Regions from separate parts of the Homo sapiens genome. Here all the other regions are linked to region 2. Evidence: promoter capture Hi-C in 16 types of primary human blood cells and fetal thymus (Javierre and others, 2016). All regions are on one chromosome and are shown on one strand. Each heading gives the region's core, a stretch centred on a gene start or on the middle of the fragment in contact. The rest is flanking DNA. Distances are from core to core; before and after follow the strand shown. Region 1 overlaps CHRNA2 (cholinergic receptor nicotinic alpha 2 subunit). Region 2 holds the start of CLU (clusterin). Region 3 overlaps ESCO2 (establishment of sister chromatid cohesion N-acetyltransferase 2). Region 4 overlaps PTK2B (protein tyrosine kinase 2 beta). Region 5 overlaps CCDC25 (coiled-coil domain containing 25).

Region 1 (2,700 bases), core at 116-2,615, 140 kb after region 2:
AAGAGTGGAGTCAAATCTACACAGTTTGGGTGAGCTCCTGCTGCTGTGAGATGAGGGGAGGGCTTGTAAAACACATCACAGGTATTGCTGCCTGCTTGAAAATTATTTTTATATTAAGTGACCGATACATGTTGATAGTGGGAAATTTGGAAAATGCAGAAAACTGTCAAAAAGAATAATAATCACCTCTAATTCCTGCGCCCAGAGATAACACAGGTGATCTATTTGTATGCAGAAAAGAGATTAAAAGAGAAAAGAGCAAGATGGTAAAGCTGTCTCTGGAAATCAGTTAGCTGTGCTGTTTCCTTTGCAATGGTCTGCTTTGGGGAAGTCCCCTGGGGACAAGTCCCTGCACCTTCGAGGGCCAGAGATCCCAGACCTTGCCACTGCGGTTCACCTGAGCCACAGAAGCTGCTGATGCCCAGGCTGGGGTGGGTGCTGTACAAACATTCTGCATAATTTGCAGGGCGATGTGAGTTTACACATTATATAAAGCTGCACTCCTGAACGAGAGCTCTTGACAGTTATGCTGCAGGGTTTGCTGTGTGAACAGAGCAGCTCCAGTGGGGCTGTGTGTACCAGGCCTATCTGTGGAGAAGCTTCCCACTGCCAGGACTCCCTGCTTCTCCCCCTGGAGGCACCATTCTGGGAGAGCTTTGGGATGCTCTCTCGGGCAGTTCATTCCATACATATACTGGGAACCGCCAACCTTTTGCACCTGCCAGCTGGGGATTTTCAGAGCCAGGAAGGAACCGGGAACCTCTAAGAGCTGGGACAAAGGGAGGAATCCCAGGGCAGGATGGGGTGTAGGGTGGCATGGAGGATAAGGGCAGCTCATGGACAGGGGCAATATTCTCCCAAGGGAACAGAAGAAAAATGTAATCCTCTATTTTCAACAAGTCTTTGAATTGAAACCTTCTGGGGAAATTGATGCAGGCAGGCCCTTTTCCCCTAAAACACTCTGGTGTCTGTGCTGTAGTCAGTATATGCCAGCAATTCCAACACATTGAAATTCACATCAAATCCTTCCCACATTCCTCTTCTCCTACTTGACCCAAACTGTCATTGTGCAATGCCACTGTGGGTCATGGGCCCTGACAACCATAAGAGCAACCTGTTCCCTGACCAGCCCTCTGCAGTTCCCCGGGGACTTTCATGGGCACAAGTGATCCCGTTTGCTCCCGTCACTCCTCCCACAGGGCAGAAAGTGTCCAATCTTTATCTTAAGACAAAATCCCAGGGGGATTGAGTGACCTTTCACAGATCATCACCAGCCAGTGGTGGGGCCAGGACTCAAAGCGACATTTGCCAGTGCCAGCCCTGCTCTCATCTCCTGCCAGGAGGTTAGGATGGGCCGGTGCAACCGACCCTGGGAGAGATGGAGGATTAGTGATGCTGGAAACACTGTTGAGAGTCTGTGTCAGAGTGGACGGGGGGGATGAGAATGACTAGATAGAAGTGGTTTCACAACTTCATGAATAATAATTCTGATTCTCTCATACCCGGTGGTTTACTTTTATTTTTATTTTCTTTTTGAGATGGGATCTTGCTTGTTGTCCAGGCTGGAGTGCAGTGGCAAGATCATAGCCCATTGCAGCCTTGACTTCCCCAGGCTCACACGACCCTCCCTTCTTGGCCTTCCCAGTAGCTGAGATCACAGGCACGCACCACTATGCCCAGCTAATTTTTGAATTTTTTGTAGAGACGGCGGGGGGGGTCTCACTATGTTGCCCAGGCTGGTTTTGAACTGCTGAGCTCAAACACTCCTTCCATCTTGGCCTCCAAAAGAGCTGGAATTACAGGCATGAGCTACTGTACCCAGCCCTTGGTTTATATTTTTAAAGCCACTTTTACCCTTATTCTTTCTTGAAAAGTTGTGGCTAAATACACATAACATAAAATTGATCGTTATTGGCATTTAGTACAATTCGAACAGTGTGCAGCCGTCACCACTATCTAGTTCCAGAACATTCTCACCCTTCCAAAGGAAATCCTGCACCCACTAGCTGTACCGAGAGCCTTTGTTATCTCCCTAGGCCACATACACGATGTGTCCCGGAACATGAGGCCATGCTCTTCTCTCCATAAGGGGGGCTGTTTCAAAAAATGCTAATTTGAATGTGTAAGCTTTTAAGGCAATAATGTTATTTTAGTGATATATATATATATTTTTTAAATCAAATACTCTATAAAATAATATTTTAAAATACTGCTTTTCCCAATTTTCTCAATTATGAAACATTCATTTCATATGAAACATTATATTTACCCCATCTTTGACATCTGTGTCCTTCTGGTCACTAGAACCCTTTGTGTATTGATTCTCCATGTTTGGCAAATATCACTGTCACCACAGTCAAGAGGGGTAGCTGCTGCTTCTTAATCCATGAGGTGTTTGTTTATTTTTTAATAATAACTTTTTTTGAGATAAATTCAAATATCATAAAATTCCCCCATTTAAAGTGTGCAATTCGGTGAATTTTAGTATATTCACACATCTGTGTAACATCACACCGTCTAGTTCCAGAGATCTCTTATCCCCTCTAAGGGAAACTCAGTGATCATTAAGCAGTCACTTCCCATCCCTCCTTCCCGCTGCCCCTGCAACCACTAATCTACGTTCTGTTTCTATAGATTTGCCTATTCTGCATATTCCATATCAGTAGGATCATACAATGTGTAGGAAAAACCACAAACTGT
Region 2 (2,700 bases), core at 46-2,545:
TGGTCTGGGTTCTCCCACTTAGTCATGGGCCTTGAAGATTCCCCGAGGCTGCCTCCTGAAAAGGACTGGGGTCCTAGTGGCCCCTGGACGTTGGGCAAGCAAGGGACTGGGCCTCCATGTTGTGCCTCCATAGTCCTGATCCTGAACTGGAAAACTCAGCCCCTGACCACGCAGCTCTCCTTTAAGCCCCTTTGTTTCACATGGTTTTCAAAGTCTGCCACCCACAGTGGGGCTGCCTGTACCCGCCCTGTCCACCCATTGCCCCAGCTGTCAGCCCCTTGACTTCTCTCCTGGGGCTTAAACATCCCTGGCTCCAAAATGGGCAGCTCACTTTCTTCCCCAAGAAGTAGCTGCACCTCCAGGGTTCCTAGATTTGCCCCTCCTTGCCAGGGGGAGGGGTGGCTGCGACAGGAGATTCTCCCTGCTCTCAGCAGAAGGAACTCCAGCAGTTGGAGACCAGCAAACCCCTCTGGACACAGATCTGATTTCCTAACTGGGAAGGCTCAGGGCAAAATAAAAATTCAGGTCCACTGGTTCAAAAACTATGAAGAATTTCAAGACCGTCACAGTAGCCCATTAAACCAAACGTGGATCTGCAAGGGTCCCACAGCCATGAAGCCCACCCTGCTTGGTTGGGTTCCAAAAAGATGGGGACAGTGATTGCTTAAGCTCTGTGGATCAAGGACCCCGGAGAGGCCTTCTGGCTCTCCACATATCTGCTCTGATCACTCCTAAACACAATTCTGTTTCCTCCAGGCCTGGCGGGTCAGTCCAGGGACCCCCATCAGTGTGATGTTTCCAGGAGTAGGCGTTTCAATACTTCCTGTGCTCTCTTCTCCAGCACAAGGCCCCTCTCCATCCCACCCTCATTATGTCTGACTCTTTACTATTTAAATGGGTCAAGAGAAGTGGCGCTTGTGTAATGTGAAGGTTAAGGTCAGTAGGGCCAGGGAACTGTGAGATTGTGTCTTGGACTGGGACAGACAGCCGGGCTAACCGCGTGAGAGGGGCTCCCAGATGGGCACGCGAGTTCAGGCTCTTCCCTACTGGAAGCGCCGAGCGGCCGCACCTCAGGGTCTCTCCTGGAGCCAGCACAGCTATTCGTGGTGATGATGCGCCCCCCGGCGCCCCCAGCCCGGTGCTGCACCGGCCCCCACCTCCCGGCTTCCAGAAAGCTCCCCTTGCTTTCCGCGGCATTCTTTGGGCGTGAGTCATGCAGGTTTGCAGCCAGCCCCAAAGGGGGTGTGTGCGCGAGCAGAGCGCTATAAATACGGCGCCTCCCAGTGCCCACAACGCGGCGTCGCCAGGAGGAGCGCGCGGGCACAGGGTGCCGCTGACCGGTGAGATGTCCCCGTCTTCCCTACCCTTGAGCAGAGCCACACCAGGACGGATGGGCGGGCAGGGGATGGCAGCCAGGCAGAGAGGGATGACACAGCTCGCAGTCACAACCCCTGCGCTTTCGACGGAGCCCAGGAAGCCAGGGAGGGGAGGTGGCCGGAGCCCCATCACCAGGCAGCTGAGCCAGGGGCCCCGGCGCAACCGCCGCCTGAGAGCACGAGCTCCAACCACAATTCTGTGGTGGGGGGGTAAATAGAACAGATATAATGATCATCCTTTCGCAAAGATGGGGAAACTGAGACCTGGAGACCTGCCGCGTTGCGGGAGACCCAGGCTAGCAGGTGACAGAGCTGGCCTGCACCGAGCTCCTTCCTGCAGCATATCCTCTGCGAAGATGCGGATCTCTCAGTTGTGGCTTTCGGCTTGCATGCATGAGTCATCTAGTTTTCTTCTAAATTCTCTAGCTCTCTGGACACTGTTGCCTGTAAGTATGAGGCTGCGGATTTCAGTATATGCTGCAACCACCGAAATCCGACTTTTTCTGCCTCCTAATGCATCTGAGGTGCATCAGAGAAAAGTCACACAAGATCCACCAGGCCTCAGACCTCTGATTCCACAGTCTCATTTTACAGATGATAATCTGAGGCCTGGAGAGGTTTAGGACTGGTGCCAACACTAAACAGCAAATAAGTATCAGAATTGGGATTCGAGCCAAAGCCTCTTGACCTTCCAGAATTTCTGGACCTAGTTAAAAAAAATATGATTTTTATTATTATTTTTTAAACGGAGAGGTTAGGAATTTAAAGGAAAGTACAGATACTATATAAAAAAAGATGCCCATGAAAATGTTAAGTTATAATAATAGTGGAGCATTGGGCACAACTGAAATGGCCAATCTTGTGAGAATGGTAAAATAAACTTAGGTCCGTGAGTAAGTGGAGTATTACATAGCCATAAAAGTATGCCCTTAAAGAATATTTGAAGATGGTGAATGTGAAGAATCTTGTATAAACTGCATGGAAGACAGAAGGAAATATACCACAGTGCTAACCTTTGCCTCTGGGTGATATGAATTACCGGTGATTATTTTTCTTATTTTCCTTTTGGTTTAGTTTTCTCCATTTGAAGAAGCAGATAGGAGCCGGGGCTTTGGGATTGAAACCCTCACCATCTGTGTGCCCTCTTCACTGTCTTCCCATCCTCCCCACGGCTCCCTGTTCACAGTCATTGATTTTCTTTCTTTCTTTTCTCTCTTTTTTTTTTTTTTTCCTGAGACCAAGTCTCACTCTGTTGCCCAGGCTGGAGTAGAGTAGCGCCATCTCGGCTCACTGCAACCTCCGCCATCCGGGTTCAAGCAGTTCT
Region 3 (2,700 bases), core at 18-2,517, 160 kb before region 2:
ATATTTAGCACTGCCTTATATTCAGCACTCAGTAAATACTAGTTATTAACATCATATCTCAGAATCATAAAAAAAAGCTTTATGTATTCATAGTTTAGTAAGCTATTTAATTGAACACTGACAGCATAAATTAGGAATAGGATTTCAGAATTGACAGGAATTTAAAAATTAACTTTAACTCTTTAGAGATATCTTCCTAGATCATACAGCTAATTATTAGTAAACCTAGACAAAAATCCATGGTTCTTGATGCTTAATTTCAGTGTCACTTATAAAACTTAGTAAGTTCTGCTCACAATTGGGCTTTGATCACAAATATACATAATAGTTTTAACTTCTATTATTTTGGGTGAAAGATAGAGTAGGTATGATTTTATAATGAGAACACTCAACTCTAGAGAGCTTAAGTAACTTGGCCACAGCCATAGACCAATTAAGCCTAATATTTTGTCTAAAATTTTAACCTAGGATCTCCTTGTTTCTTGTTTTTCAAAACGCAATGCACTGCTTTACTACAGAAAACAGTGTCACAGAGATAAACAAAGATACTAACCACAGGCACGCTACTGAAAAAAGAAAGACCCAGAAATTACAAGAATTATTATTGTATAATGTATGTAATAAAGCATTATTTTAAGCAGCTAAATTCATGCGAGTTTTCTCTTACTTGTCTTATTCTCACCAAGAGAATCCTCTGAAGAAAAAGCCTCATTTTTATCAACTTTATGTTCCTTTGAAGAAACTCTGTCATCTGATGAATCCTGAAAATAGGTTTAAAAAAAAAACCAAACATCTGTAATTTTTAACTATTTTCTAGTGAATGAATCCCAGCAGATCTATTTCTAAAACAAAAGATTTGGTTTATTATGAATTACATTTCATAATGTGATTTTCAATCAATTTTCAAACTATTTTTAGGAAAACTTCCCCTGTATTCACTAAGCGTACATTACCTTTAAAGCCAGAGTACAGCAGGGCCCGGTGGCTCATGCCTGTAATGCCAGCACTTTGGGAGGCCGAGGTGGGTAGATTGCGAGGTCAAGGGATTGAGACCATCCTGGCTAACATGGTGAAACCCTATCTCTACTAAAAATACAAAAATTAGCTGGGCGTGGTGGCACCTGCAGTCCCAGCTACTCGGGAGGCTGAGGCAGGAGAATTGCTTGAACCCAGGAGGCGGAGGTTGCAGTGAGCCAAGATCGTGCCACTGCACTCCAGCCTGGCAACAGAGCAAGACTGTCTCAAAAGAAAAAAAAGCCAGAGTACACGTGTTGTAATCTGTCATCCTCTCAAAAATGTGTTATACTTCCTGACAGAGATGGCAGAATGATTACAGACCATCACTTCCATAATGAAATGAACAAAAAAGCCAGTAAAAATGGCAAAAGTTTCCCCAGCAGCCACCAAACTGGAAAGGGACAACTTTTTGCCATAAACTTTAAAAATCAGCAGCTAAGGAAAGAACATTCTAGAGTCACTGGAGAGTAGCAGGAATGTGGGAAAAGCAAAGTAGAAAAAAATCCTGACAGATTTCCCTCATACTAATTTGGGAATTACTAGGGAATATATAGCTTGGGGAAAAAGGAAAAAAACTCTTGGTTAAAGTAGAACTTCTACTCAAAACCATAATATCCCAGCAGAGGTGGGATAACCCATCAGTTTAACACTTTTCAGGGCTCCATGAGTTGGGGAAAGGGTATCCTCACAAAAATCAGATTCACCGGCCAGGCGCGGTGGCTCACACTTGTAATACCAGCACTTTGGGTGGCCAAGGCAGGTGGATCACAAAGTCAGGAGTTCAAGACCAGCCTGGCTGAGAGGGTGAAACCCCGTTCCTACTAAAAATACAAAAATTAGCCAGGTGTGGTGGCCGGTGCCTACAATACCAGCTACTTGGGAGGCTGAGGCAGAGAATTGCTTGAACCTGGGAGGCGGAGGTTGCAGTGAGTTGAGATCATGCCACTGCACTCCAGCCTGGGCAACGGAGTGAGACTCCATCTCAAAATAAAAAAACAGAAAATCAGATTCGCCCTTAGCTAGCAGAGACGAATCCCAGACATGGGTATTTAGCAAAATCTTGAAAGAGCATAGCCCCGTTCCACAAATTTAAAATGCACAAAAGCCCAGCTTCCCAAACTACTGAAAACTAACTCAATACCAAACCCGTAAAGTGAAGCTAAGAAAAAGAAAATAAGACAGAAAAGAGAATTACAGAATTCTCTGTTACACTGGTTACAGAGAATTCATCAGGTCACCATTCATTTGGTACACCACCAGGCTGTACCAAACAGATAAGAATAATCATCAGGAGATGCATGGGGAAACTGCAGACTCTTCCTTTGTTTTACTGGATTGAGACAATTTTAGCTTGAGTTACGCCCCAAACTTTCAAAAAACTTAATTTTCATACAAATGTATAAGTATAAAGCACAGTTTAATACATTTTGATAAAGCTTACTCTTGTAATCAAAATCCCTATCAAGACACAGAAGTGTTTTGTTGATATAAACAGAAAATGAATTAGTAAAATTAGACTGTCATGGCTTAGCTAGCAAGAACGTATCTCATTTAACAATCTACTTGGCCATACTCGATAAACAGGAAAAAAAACAAACATTTACAGTGAGGACTAAAAACTTAAATGCCTTACAAGGGCAGCAGTAAGTAAAATGATCAAAACTAAACTGATCTAAATAGATA
Region 4 (2,700 bases), core at 198-2,697, 260 kb after region 2:
CCAGGAAATCCTGCCCTCTCACCCACCCCCACCCCTTTATGATTGCATCGCCATGGGGTTCTGCCACCGGTTCAGGAGCCAGCTAGCTCACAAGTCACATTGGCTTCCATGGTGGAGGAACGGGGCTGGAAGGAGGGAGGGACCTGGAAGGAGGAAGGGCACCAGAAACACTGAATGCTCTTGGGCTGTCCTCTGGCCTCTGTGACAGCTCCCTGTCTCTATCCCTCCCTGACCCCTGCCCAGGCCAGGCCTCCTCTGAGCATCAGCCGTCTCCCATCAGCATCAGCATGACTTTCCTTCTCTGCGGCGCTTGCCGGCATCGCGCATGGATTCCTTGGGCTGTCTGATTCCAGCCCATCTCCCATTCTGGGTGTTAAGTTCTGGGAGCTCAGGGAGGACTGTGTCTCTTTATGCGTCACCCTAGACCTAGATTCTAGTTGACTCAGTGACATTTGTTGACTGAATAAATGAAAGTGAGCTTTTGCCAATGTGAGAACATGGGGATGTATGATTTTTCAGTCCTGTAATAGACAGACCTAATGTCGACTGGGCCCTTCCCCCTTCATATGCATGGCATGCTGAATAAACCATAACAAAGACATCTTAATCACATCCGAGTGGTAAAGAAGAAATTCTCAGGTGTCAGAAATATCCGGAAAAATCTAAAGCAGTGTGTGGGCACTAAAGCTATGGAGGCCACCTGGGTATCAGAGGATGTTGGCCCAGGAGCTGGGGCCGGGGGTTTAACGTTTGTGCAGGGTGATGTCTTCAGGCTCCAGACCCTTGTGAGGCAGGGATTAACTCAACAAATACCATCCTGACTACAAGGTGGGCACTAGAAACACTGTTCACCAGCCCTGGGCATGAAGAAGCTTGACCTCTGTCTGGGTCCCAGGAAAGAAAGAAAGAAAGATAGGGAGAGAGAAAGAAAGAGAGAAGGTAAAACCCAAAACCTGTGTCATTCTACTTACATGCAGTGGGAATTCTAATCCAAGTAATTAAAATAAAAACAAATCCAGAGATGGTGACAAGTGATTCAAGCAGAGGAAAAAGCAGAACTCTGGAGTGCATTTCCATAAGCAAAAACACATAAATACCCTGCTCCTCCTGCCCCAATTCACAGTGACGATCCATACAACCAAGCAACCCACCTTGAGAAAGGGGCAGCAGATGCACGTTATAGATTAGAAAATCAAGAACTGAAGTAAATGGAATAACTTAAGACAATAAAAAGTATATTTGCAAGGCCAGGTGCAGTGGCTCACGCCTGTAATCCCAGCACTTTGGGAGGCTGAGGCAGGCAGATCGCTTGAGGTCAGGAGTTTGAGACCAGCCTGGCCAATATGGTGAAACCCCTTCTCTACTAAAAATACAAAAAATTAACCAGGCATTGTGGTGCATGCCTGTAGTCCAGCTACTCGGGAGGCTGTGGCAGGAGAATTACTTGAACCTGGGAGGTGGAGGTTTCAGTGAGCTGAGATCGCGCCACTGCACTCCAGCCTGGGTGACAGAGCAAGACTATGTATGTTTCAAAAATATATATATTTGCAATATCTAAATAGAAAAAAAAGAAGGTATGCAAAGTCCAAGATAATAATCCTAATGGCTAAAATGGGGAGGGGAGATGTTGAAAAGAAGATAATACTATAATACCAGTGGACAACAGTTTGGGACATGAGAAGAGAAAGATTAGAGTCAAAGTGCCATAAAATCCTTCCAATTTGGTAAGGAGGATAATGATATTGATTAATGTTAGACCTTAAATTCAAGTATGTGTTAAAAAATTAAAATAATAGAAACCTATTATTAGGTTTTATTTTTAACCTATTTTTCCATTAAAATAATAGAAACCTAATATATAACTTCTAAACCAATAGGCTACAAGAGGAGAAAATAATAAACACATAATCAATACAGTGAAAGGCAAGAGGTGAGAAAAGGCAAAGATGAAGCATGGCAAACAAAATAATGTAGTATACATATACTAAATATATTAGAAGTCTTAATAAATAAAGAAGCTTAAATTGCCTGTTAAAAGACAAAGACACTTAGACTTAATTTTTTAAAAATCCAGCTATCTGTAGTTTACAAGAAGCAAACCTAAAAACATTAAGACATCAAAAGTTAAAAATAAAGAGACAGAAAAATATAAACCAGTTACTAAGTGAAAGTTGATATTGATATATAAAATAGCAAATAAGATTTGAAGAAAAACATTAAAAATATGATTATGAGGAATCATGTTAAAAAGGAAAAATTTGCCAAGAAGTTACAATCATAAGCTTATATGCACCAAAACACAGACAATTAAAAATATAAAGCAAAAATGGACAGAAATGCAAAAAGTATTGCTTCTTTTCTTCTTCATGGTTTCATTTGGCCTGAGTGCTACAAAACTGTGTAGCAGTCAACTCAACTGAGGATGGCTTAACTCAGCTGAACCTACAGTGCAGAGCTATATCCACAGCCCTGTGCTGCCCTGGGGGAATTTAGATGGTTCTAACCAATCTACCAAGGAGGGGAGCAAAGAGTGAGGATGAAGAGAACTAATGAGAAAAAGGGAACGTCTACTATGTTTAAGACATTGTGCTAAGAACTAAGTAAACCTTCTTATGCAACCCCATAGAAATCCAATGAGGTTGGCTTGGTTACCCCAATTACTACTAGTAACCCCAATTTACAGAGTAGAAACCGAGCTTC
Region 5 (2,700 bases), core at 65-2,564, 150 kb before region 2:
TATTTTCTTTTTATACTTCTAATGTTTGTTTTGTTTTAAATTTTCTGTAATTTTATAATCAAGTTAATTTTTCTTAAAGAAGTAAAATATTTCTTTAAAGTTTCAGCCAGTTCTTTTTAATGTTTAAGTATTATTAGGTGAATTGATTATCTGAAACATCTGAACTATTGGTTGCTTTGTTTTGTCAGTGTTAGTTTTATTATCTTCATATAGAAATAATATCTGAGCTTTAGATTAGAAGTATTATATAAATTTATAAAAATTATAAAGTTCATATTGTTCAATTATGAAAATTATTATTTTTTCTGTATTTTCAAGCATCAAGGCCTCCGAATTACTCTTCTTCATTGAGGGAGAGAGAAATTTGTGGGAGGAGCTGACATTTCTCCCATTCTTATAAACCCTGGCATATCTTCATTTGACAGTTTTTGTTTCTTTCGTTTCTCATATCTCATTGCAGATGAAGATCTGATCAAGCATGGCTGGCCTGAAGATATCTGGTAAGTAACAATTTTGGTTCTGCCCTCTGTAGATCATCATTTCCTTTCTTAGACTTGGCCAAGCATTCAAACTAGAATCATGCTTTGTACTGTGGTTTATGGGTCTTCAGGGTTAAACAGCTGACTGCCAGTTCCTTCATTTCTAATTACCTTGCAAGTTGGAAATGATGTTTTTGGGTTTGATCTCAGGCTTGAGAGCAAAGGCCTCTAGGACACAGGCCTTCTTTTTCCTCCTTTTTGTCTCCACGCCATAGTAAGTTACTGAGACCACACCTCACTTAAATATTCAGACCACTGTTCTTGAGTGGAAAAATGAAGACTTCACATGAAGCAATGAAGAAAATAGATACAAGCATCCATGCGGATGGAATAGACGGAGGTTCTTACTGGTCCAGCTTTAAAGGAAGCACACTTGTTCCCCTTTGTCTTCTAAACTCCCTGATGAGTTTAGCTCTGTCTTGATCCAACCCCGACGCCTTCTTTCTAAAACAATTTATGTGAACTGTTTTAAATAATAACATATACTTTCTTAGTCTCCTTTTGAGATCATTTATTTTGCTCACAAAACCCAGTCCAAAAAAAAAGAATACCAAACAAACAAAAAGACTTCATTTAAGCTGAATTCTTTTCTCTGTCTTAGAACACCATATAGACTTCTACCATTCAGACCTGGGGCCTTTTATGAATACATGGGCTTCTGTCCTATAACACTGTCACACCCAGTCTACTTTCGTTTTCTTCATCTTCAGCTTCCACCACTGACTCTGACCCTAGTATTGCCTCTCTTCTAGAGCACAGTCCTGCCTATGGAGTGGGATATCATCTTCCTGACTCCTCATACCTCCTACCAAATGCTATCCCTGAAGATAAAGGCACCTGGGTCCCGTTTGCTTTATTATGATAGTGAATATCTGTCAAGCACTTAACTATATGCCAAATACTACTAAGTGTTTACCTCCATTAATACATTTAACTTCACAACAACCCTGTGAAATAGATATTAATATTTATGCCCATTTTTTCAGATGAGGAAATTAAGGTTAAGAGAAACTGACTGGGTCTGCTCTGTCTGCTACTGGCTCTGGCTCTGGTTCTAAGTCACTGCTTCTGTCTTCTCCAGGCTGCTGCTCTTTTGGCTTCAGCTCCTTTCTTCTCCCAGGCTGTTGCTGCAGCTCTCTCTGGACCTCTTTTCTCCAAATGTGGACACAGACCCTTCACTTATTTCCCTCTAGTGATAGAGTTGGGCTACTGCTTTTTAGAAGAGTTGATTTAATTTTCTTTTTTTTTTTGAGACGGAGTTTCGCCCTTGTTGCCGAGGCTGGAGTGCAATGGTGCGATCTCGGCTCACTGTAACCTCTGCCTCCCTAGTTCAAGAGATTCTCCTGCCTCAGCCTCCCGAGTAGCTGGGACTACAGGCACCCATCATCATGCCTGGCTAATTTTTTGTATTTTTAGTAGAGACTGGGGCTATCACCACATTGGCCAGGCTGGTCTCGAACTCCTAACCTCAGGTGATCTACCCGCGTTGGACTCCCAAAGTGCTGGGATTAGAGGCGTGAGCCACCGCGCCCAGCCAGAACAAAGGAATTTTAAAGGCTTATTTAAATCTGGTCCCTATTCCAGCACAAAAACCTGTCTTCTAAATCCAAATATGTCATCAAGTTAAACCCTGCTTGGTGCTCTTTTGCCTCAAGTGGGCAGTGTGCAATGCTGAAAACATCCAGACTGGGGCTGCCCGCCTTCCTAGGGCCTGAGACAGTAAGCTGTATGAGGACAATGATCACCTATTTCATTAACTACTATGTCCCCAGTACCTAGCATAGGTCCTGGCACATAGTAGGTATTCAGTAAATATTGGTTGATTTCCTAATTGACTCCCTGCCAGCGTAGAAGCAGTCTCCATGGACATTTCCCTACAATGGCCACATCATGGTTATCTCCATTTTGAGCTCCTGCCAACCCCAGCTGGATGATTTTCAGTTGTTTTTAAAGATCTCCAGACTCTCATGGGAATAAGAATGGCTGCACCTGTTAGGCAGTTAGCTGATGGAAATTTTTAACCTATCAGGTTTGAGGCATAAAAACCTGCATAGAGAAGGTTACATAATCAGATGCAGCCTGAAAATCAGTGTACCACAGCCTTCTACCTGACTTTCATTTGTTTAAATAAATGGAAGAGAAATTTCCAGTTTACAACCCA

Evidence for each region. Contacts are between HindIII fragments. The CHiCAGO score rates a contact against its expected background, and 5 or more counts as called.
Region 1: a contact is called between a fragment that was not itself captured here and the fragment with the promoter of CLU in region 2, in 1 of 17 cell types (megakaryocytes). The highest score is 6.0, in megakaryocytes.
Region 3: a contact is called between a fragment that was not itself captured here and the fragment with the promoter of CLU in region 2, in 1 of 17 cell types (endothelial precursors). The highest score is 5.4, in endothelial precursors.
Region 4: a contact is called between a fragment that was not itself captured here and the fragment with the promoter of CLU in region 2, in 1 of 17 cell types (erythroblasts). The highest score is 5.1, in erythroblasts.
Region 5: a fragment that was not itself captured here is called in contact with the fragment with the promoter of CLU in region 2 in 3 of 17 cell types (megakaryocytes, endothelial precursors and M1 macrophages); the score reaches 17.1 in megakaryocytes.

Annotation. Positions count from the first base shown.
Region 1 is chr8:27,472,542-27,475,241 of GRCh38, reverse strand. The region is part of intron 1 of CHRNA2 (cholinergic receptor nicotinic alpha 2 subunit); the gene reads left to right. Among named protein-coding and RNA genes, the nearest start is that of CHRNA2, 5.4 kb to the left of the region's middle. The HindIII fragment of the contact is 1,528 bases long and covers 602-2,129 here.
Region 2 is chr8:27,613,295-27,615,994 of GRCh38, reverse strand. CLU (clusterin) reads left to right here and starts at 1,295. Exons shown (of 9, transcript NM_001831.4): 1 at 1,295-1,340. RefSeq lists enhancers at 1-207, 1,164-1,663 and silencers at 1,052-1,141, 2,697-2,700. The HindIII fragment of the contact is 8,616 bases long and covers 1-2,700 here.
Region 3 is chr8:27,778,235-27,780,934 of GRCh38, reverse strand. It overlaps ESCO2 (establishment of sister chromatid cohesion N-acetyltransferase 2), which reads right to left. Exons shown (of 11, transcript NM_001017420.3): 4 at 668-761. Among named protein-coding and RNA genes, the nearest start is that of ESCO2, 5.0 kb to the right of the region's middle. The HindIII fragment of the contact is 2,376 bases long and covers 80-2,455 here.
Region 4 is chr8:27,357,961-27,360,660 of GRCh38, reverse strand. All of the region lies in intron 1 of PTK2B (protein tyrosine kinase 2 beta), which reads right to left. Among named protein-coding and RNA genes, the nearest start is that of PTK2B, 34 kb to the right of the region's middle. The HindIII fragment of the contact is 1,146 bases long and covers 875-2,020 here.
Region 5 is chr8:27,760,219-27,762,918 of GRCh38, reverse strand. It overlaps CCDC25 (coiled-coil domain containing 25), which reads left to right. Exons shown (of 9, transcript NM_018246.3): 3 at 461-500. Among named protein-coding and RNA genes, the nearest start is that of CCDC25, 11 kb to the left of the region's middle. The HindIII fragment of the contact is 4,892 bases long and covers 1-2,700 here.